Regions from separate parts of the Homo sapiens genome. Here region 1 is linked to region 2. The links are contacts of gene promoters, found by promoter capture Hi-C in blood cells and fetal thymus (Javierre and others, 2016). All regions are on one chromosome and are shown on one strand. The core of a region is centred on a gene start or on the middle of the fragment in contact, and the rest is flanking DNA. Distances in the headings are between cores, read along the strand shown. Region 1 overlaps PRDM16 (PR/SET domain 16). Region 2 holds the start of PLCH2 (phospholipase C eta 2).

Region 1 (3,205 bases), core at 266-2,765, 950 kb before region 2:
GAAGGGAACCCTGACTGCATGGTTTTCAGTTGCACGTGGGTGCTTGGCATGTGCGTGTGTGCCATGCCTGTGTGTGCACACTTGTGTGTGCTCTTGGTCATCAGAACGCCCGCAGCGGTGCTCATCTGATCCCACAGGCACACACGCACTTGAACATTCTGTTTATATGATCATGCGTTTTCATATTTTGAAAACAAAGCAAGCTCCATGATGCCCATGGCACAGCACACAGAAAGTCTACCCACTGCAGCAGGATCCTGGCCGGGGGGGCCTGGTAGCAGCTGGAGACCAGGCCAGGGCCTCTGTGGGAGCCTCTGTGGAGGCACCAGGATGGGGCAGGGTTTGTTCACCCGGAGTGGGTGTGGCTGTTCTAAGCACAGTGGCCTTCGTTCCCACAGAGGACAGGACTCCGAGAGGCCCCACCCCGCCCCGACCGGTGCCGGTGGCCCGCTCCAGAGCAGCATACTGGTCACATGCCCTTGTCACATGGATGGGGACGTGCCTGGTGACACTCGGGAGTCCTGGCCTCCCAGACCGGGAGGGGCTGTGTGGCTCGGCCTTCTCGGCACGGTGCTGCCCTGTACAGGAGGGGCCTGGGCTGGTGTTTGCTATCACAAAAGCCTGGCGAGGGAGTCTGACCTGCCATCAACACACCCGCAGGGGCCTCCCCAAGGCAGGAAGCTTCAGTCCCACACCTTCCGGGTGCTGCTGCCGGGCCCAGGAGCTCAGCATTCCCCACGTGCAGGGGCTGCGGCCGTGAGAAACTGTCCTTGGAATCTCAGAGCCTGCGAGTCTCCCCCAACTCCCCAGGCTGCCTGGTAAAACCTAGCAAGTCTGAAAATGGGTCCCCTAGAGAACGGGAGGCAGTCCTGGGAGAAGGGCACTCCTCTCCCACGCCTGGCCGAGGCATATCCCCATCCCACTTCGTCCCAGCAAACTTCCCTGGTGCTGCCCTAAGGCTTCATCCACTCAATTCCTGAACCTTCCAACCTTTGCCGGAGGCCAGGCTCACTCTGGCCTCTTCAACAGTAGACAGGAAAAGAAGCATTGGTGATCGAAGTCCCTGAGCTCCCCGAAGTGACCCTCAGCCTTCTCTGCTCCTGATCCCAGGGGCCTGGCCTGTGGGCTTCTTCTCTGGGAGCCCCTGCTCCTGCCCGGGTCAGCTGAGCTGCCTCCGGGCACCCGGGTCCCAGCGTCTCCTCCCACAGCCCAGTGACAGGCAGCGCCCTGGCTTGGACTGGCCATCCACAAAGCCTGCCCTGGGCGGCGCTGCAGTTTTGTTTGACTCGGCCTGTGAACTCACACAAGAATAAGGCCGAGGATGGAGCCCTTTCGGCAGCAGGGTTGGAGATGCTTGGGTGCCCCCCTACCCGACGTGTCCCACACAATCTCCCAGAAAGGAGGGATTTTACACCCTCCAATGCATTTTCTCACATCCCCCACCCTGACACATCCTTAGACTGGAATGGTGGTGCCTGGCCCTGGGACCGCCATGCTTTTGAGGCTGACTGACTGCTGAGAAAGGACACACTGGACTCTGCGTCTCCAGCCCGGATGCAAAGCACCTGCCAGTCTGAGCATTCAGGCTCTGCCCAGCCAGAGGCTTCCCACCCAGCTGGGGCCATGTGCCCCTCTGGCATGTTGAGGCAGCCCAATCTGTCTGCCTGCCTGACTGTCTGTCTGCCTGCCAGTCTGCCTGCTTGCCAGTCTGTCTATCTGCCTTCCTGCCTGTCCATCTGCTTGTCTGTCTGCCTGTCTGTCTGCCTGCCTGTCTGTCCATCTGTCTGTCCACCTGCCTGTCTGTCTGCCTTCTTGCCTGTCTGCCCTGCCTGTCTGTCTGCCTGTCTGTCCATCTGTCTGTCTGCCTACCTATCTATCTATCTGCCTTCCTGCCTGTCTGCCCTGCCTGTCTGTCTGCCTGTCTGCCTGCCTGTCTGTCCATCTGTCTGTCCACCTGCCTATCTTCCTTCCTGCTTGTCTGCCCTGCCTGTCTGTCTGCCTGTCTGTCCATCCATCTGTCCATCTACCTGTCTGTCTGCCTTCCTGCCTGTTTGCCTGTCTGTCTGTCTGCCTGTCTGTCCGCCTGCCTGTCTGTCTTCCTGTCTGTCCGCCTGCCTGTCTGTCTGCCTGCCTGTCTGTCTTCCTGTCTGTTTGCCTGCCTATCTTCCTGTCTGTCCGCCTGCCTGTGTGTCTGCCTGTCTGTCTGCATGTGTGCTCAAACACGGCTCATTCAGTTCCTGGTTTCTTTGGAAATGCAGAGACTTTTGCAGAAAGTCCACCTAATGGCTCTTGCATAAACCCTAGCAATTGTGGATCCGAGGTAAGAAATGGGATTGGAAAAGAAGCTTGTTCATAAAACTGGAGAGCAAGTCCCTTGTGTGAAGCTCTGGGGCCGGGGAGAGCCACGAACAGGGCTGTGCGTTCAATTTGGTTGCAGAGAGCCCTGAACGTGGCCCTCTCTTGCTTCTAATCTAAATAAATGGCCCAGACAGAGAAGTCCATTTGAAATTTAGGGGAGCCGTGAGCCCAGGGCTGCGAGGGAGCAGAGTTCTCCGAGCAGCTGGGGTCTGCGTTGTAAATAAGCTGACAAGCGGCCAGTGAAATTGATGGTCTCACTGCGTAAAATAACACGCCCGTGAGCTCCAAAAGGAAGGAGAACGTGCAGGGTAGCCTGGCCCTGGTGCAATGCGGAGGGCCTTGAGAGGACCTTGCTGTGACCGTGCCTGCTGCACTCCCAGAGAAGCCATTGGCAGGGGAACAACAGAGTATGGGCAGGTCAGGGGGGGTGGCCAGGGCCCCCGAGCCCCTGAGCACTGGGCAGCGGCATCCTTCCTAGGATCCAGTGAGGTCTCCTGCAGCCACTACAGGGGGATCTGCTTTTGGTGACTGTAAAAGTGAGGGAAGAGGAAGAAAGAAGAGATTTTGAAACCCAGCCGTAAAAATACAACTAAAAAAGAAAGGACATGCACGGGCCGCGTGCAGCCCCCGATGGAAGCACAACTGTGCCTCCCTTGCACGCTCCAGCTTCACACAGAAGGCAGGATGGAGCCTGGGGAGATGATGGAAGCACACGGCAGACTAGGGAGTCAGCAGCCCTGAGGCAGGAATCTCGGTCCCAGCAGGAGTCCCGGGCAGCCCTGCTCGCATCCAGGCTGTGACTCCAGGCTCCACTGGGCAGCCTCCCAGAGAGACCCCCGGGCCGGCT
Region 2 (3,380 bases), core at 229-2,728:
GAGGCTGTGGTGCCGGATCCGAGCTTCACAACCCCTCCCCTCCCCTCCCCCAGGCTGCCTGCCTCGCTCCTTCTCTCCCCTCCTCTCTCCATTCAGCCTCCTGCTGTAGCTTGTCCCAGGAGAGGGGGCTGCAGGGTCCAGGGAGTCCAGGCCAGAGTCAGCTGTCCCAGCCCAGGAACAGACTGGTCTCACCCCCTCGGTTCCTGCACACCTGCTCACAGAAAGCCCGGGTCCCAGAGGTACCATCTGCTAAAGCACAGAGACGTTAATCCCCACCCCAGGTCTGCACGCTGAGGGACCCTGGCGGGGGCGTTGTAGAGGACCAAGGGCAGTACTGGCCGGGCCTTCTTGGGGAAGCTACTACGTGATCACGAGCAGAGGGGAATTGAAGGGATGGAAGCCATGGCATGGGGGGCTGGGCTCTCCGGGGCACATGGGAGGTGAAGACGCAGGTATGGCTGCAGGGATTTAGGAGAGGGGTGAGGCAGGACACAGGGGCAGGGGGCGGGCAGAGGCCTGCAACAGGGCAGCCTGGACAGGACCCTGTCTGCCGCTGGAACAGAGAGCTGGCAGGCCAGCCCGGACCGGGGCCCTCCACAGGCCACCACAAGACACACACTCCACCCTCCCAGCCATACCCAGCCAGTCTCCTCTGCAGAGTCTCCTAACGGCAAAGGCCCTCATGTCCGGCACCAGGATGCCAGCCCAGCCGCCTGGGCTGCAAGCACCACTGACCCCCAGAGCACAAGGCACCCCTTCAATGAGAGCATTGGAGCCACCTGAGATCCCCCCTCGCCCCCTTGGGTTCAGCCCCCAGGCCCTGCAGGTGCCTGGGAGACCGAGGTGTGCTGAGCACGCCTCTGAGCGGCTGAGGGGCAGGGCCAGCCGACGCTGCTGGACCCACATGATCCCTAGAGCACCCGGGGGACAGGGGAGGCGAGTGCAGGATGGGATGGAGGCCCAGGCTTCCCCCACCTCCAGGAACAGCCCCCACCCACCAGTCACCTGGCCAGGGCCAGCACTCAGCCCAGGCCACTCGCCTGCCCCTTCTTACCCAGGGGGCCGAGCTGCCACTCTGAAGACAGCACCACACTCCCTCCAACCCAGAGGAGTACCTCCGCCAGCCAGGCCACCGTTCCCTTGGTCCGGCTGTCGGGGGAGGGCCATGGACCAGACATGGCCTGACGACAGCCGGGCCTGCTTCACGGAGGCCACAGAGGCCCACCGGCCTTCGGGCAGCGGAGGTCAGGCAGTGGCAGCGCTGGCGACAGGACCTCCGTGGGGCCTTCTCTCCTCTGCCTCTTCCTCCTCCTCCTCAGGGCCCTCCGAAGCCCCCACAGGGCTGTGCCCAGGCCCGGCTGGCATTGGCCTGACCGTCACCTGCTGTCCTGATGGCCCCCAGGCCAGCCTATCCACCCTCCAGGGCCACCAAGGAATCCCTGACGCAGCCGCCTCCCAAGGCTGGGGGAGCAAAGGACCTCAGCCCCGCCCAGCCCCAGGCCCAATCCCTGTGCTAATCCCAGCTCCAGCCCAGCTGGTGGAGGATTTAGGCCGAGGGAACTCCCAGCTGGGGATGGGAGGGCACTGGGGAGGCAACAGAGTTTCCCAAGGCCCCAGGCCACCAGACCCAGGTCAGGGCTGCGGGACAAGAGCAGGACCAACGGGAGGGCCCTCCTGGGACCCAGAGAACGCAACCGGAAGGCCTGCAGGGTACTGTCCTCCGAGGACCCTGTGTGGGGTGGGCCTCCCCGCTGTGCGCCCACCACAGATGCCGAGGCTGGGCCTGGAGTGGTCCCTGCCCTCACCCCGCATCCCTACTTATGAGGACCTCTGAGTGGATCCCCAAAGTCCAGAGGCAGGTGGCCCAGAGCAGGGGCAGAAGCTCACCTCATCCCCGCAGCGCCCAGCCCCTGTGGCTGGAGAGGGGAGCCGAGCCGGATCCCTTACAGCGACAACTCCCAGCCCAGGCCCAGGATGTGGGTCCCTGAGCCTGGGTTGGGCTCTCCATGTCTCCCTCATGCAGCTGCAGCCCCAGCCTGACCTTTCTCCACGGTCACCGAGCTGTGGCGGAGGAGGTGGCCCCATGCCCAGGGCACGTTTGTCCCCACATTCTGCCCTGCAGGGATGACAGCCATCTGACCTGGACAGGGGCCTCGCCCAAGGAGGACCCACCCCACCGTCTCAGCTCCCACTGAGGAAAGGACTCCAGGTCCCACTGCCACCAGGACCACACAGCCCACCCTGTGTACTGGCCCCGCACTACAGGACAGCACAGGCTCTCCCATCCCCAAGTCCAGGCCGGGACACCAGGGGCAGCTGTGGGAATGGGAGGTGGGCAGACCCCGGCTGAACACCAGCCACCTGTGTCCTGGCCATGCCCATGCTTCGTGACCACACTGGGGAGAACCCCGCCCTTCTTCCCACCCACTGCCCAGGCTCTACTGGCTCCAGCAACAAGGACTGGAAGGTTCCGGGCAGCTGCTCGCCTCCCCCCATACCAGGGGAGGAGTTTGGCCTGCAGAGCCCAGGACAGGGAGGTGCCAGGGCTGGGCATCCTGGCAGAGCCCCGGGGCCAAGGTCAGGCGTGGGAGGTGGCAGTCCCTGAGGAGATGGCCATGCGTCTCCAGCTGACCACTGACAACCAGGGCCACACCCAGCCAGATCAGATGCAGTCAGCACAGAGCCAACCCAGGCCCCCACCAGGGGCCCCGTCACAGGCTCTGCTGCTCTCGGCGGAAGCAGGTCAGCAGGCGTTTCTGGGCTCTGCCGTGGAATTAGATTAGGGAGCCATGAGCTGCAGGGAGAGGAGAGGGGCTGGAGTCCCGGGCGTCCTCAGGAAGACAGGGCCTCGGGGAAGGCCACCGTGTAAGGGGCAGCGCAGGGGCCAGGAGGTGGCCTGAGGGCCTGGAGACAGACCAGACGGCCATAGCCCTGGCCCAGGGCCCCTGCCCACCTCATACTGGGCTGCTGCGGGCTTCCACTCTGACCCAGGGGGTCCAGTTCTCCTTCCTGCACCTCAGAGGCCTCCTGGCCTGGGACACACCTGCTGTTCCCTCACCCTGGGCCTGGCCCCAGCTGGGGGTGCTCCCGTCTCTCACCCATCCCTCCTTGAAGCTCCCCAAGGCTGGGCCTCTGCTCCCTCCCTCCCTCCCTTGAGCTCTCAGCCACTAGCTGATCCCCCATCAGCTGGGGTTAGGGCTTGGAGGCCGCCATCTGCCTGGGCAGGGGTTCTGAGAGGAGCCACACATAGAGTGCCTGGCCCCAGCCCCACAACGTGGGTCCCAGGCTCCTGCACCCCAGGCCCCCTGACCTCCTCAGCAGCAGAGCTGGAATCCTCAACTGTCCAGGCGGGTGGAGGCCTGGCTAATCCCTTCCTGACA

What was found. The method cuts DNA at HindIII sites, captures the fragments that hold promoters and counts their contacts. A CHiCAGO score of 5 or more calls a contact.
Region 1: a fragment that was not itself captured here is called in contact with the fragment with the promoter of PLCH2 in region 2 in 1 of 17 cell types (endothelial precursors); the score reaches 5.6 in endothelial precursors.

Annotation. Positions count from the first base shown.
Region 1 is chr1:3,420,854-3,424,058 of GRCh38, reverse strand. The region is part of intron 12 of PRDM16 (PR/SET domain 16); the gene reads right to left. Among named protein-coding and RNA genes, the nearest start is that of ARHGEF16, 32 kb to the left of the region's middle. RefSeq lists an enhancer at 2,895-3,205. The HindIII fragment of the contact is 1,664 bases long and covers 684-2,347 here.
Region 2 is chr1:2,474,387-2,477,766 of GRCh38, reverse strand. It overlaps PLCH2 (phospholipase C eta 2), which reads right to left and starts at 1,478. Exons shown (of 22, transcript NM_014638.4): 1 at 1,055-1,478. The coding sequence starts at 1,178. The HindIII fragment of the contact is 30,181 bases long and covers 1-3,380 here.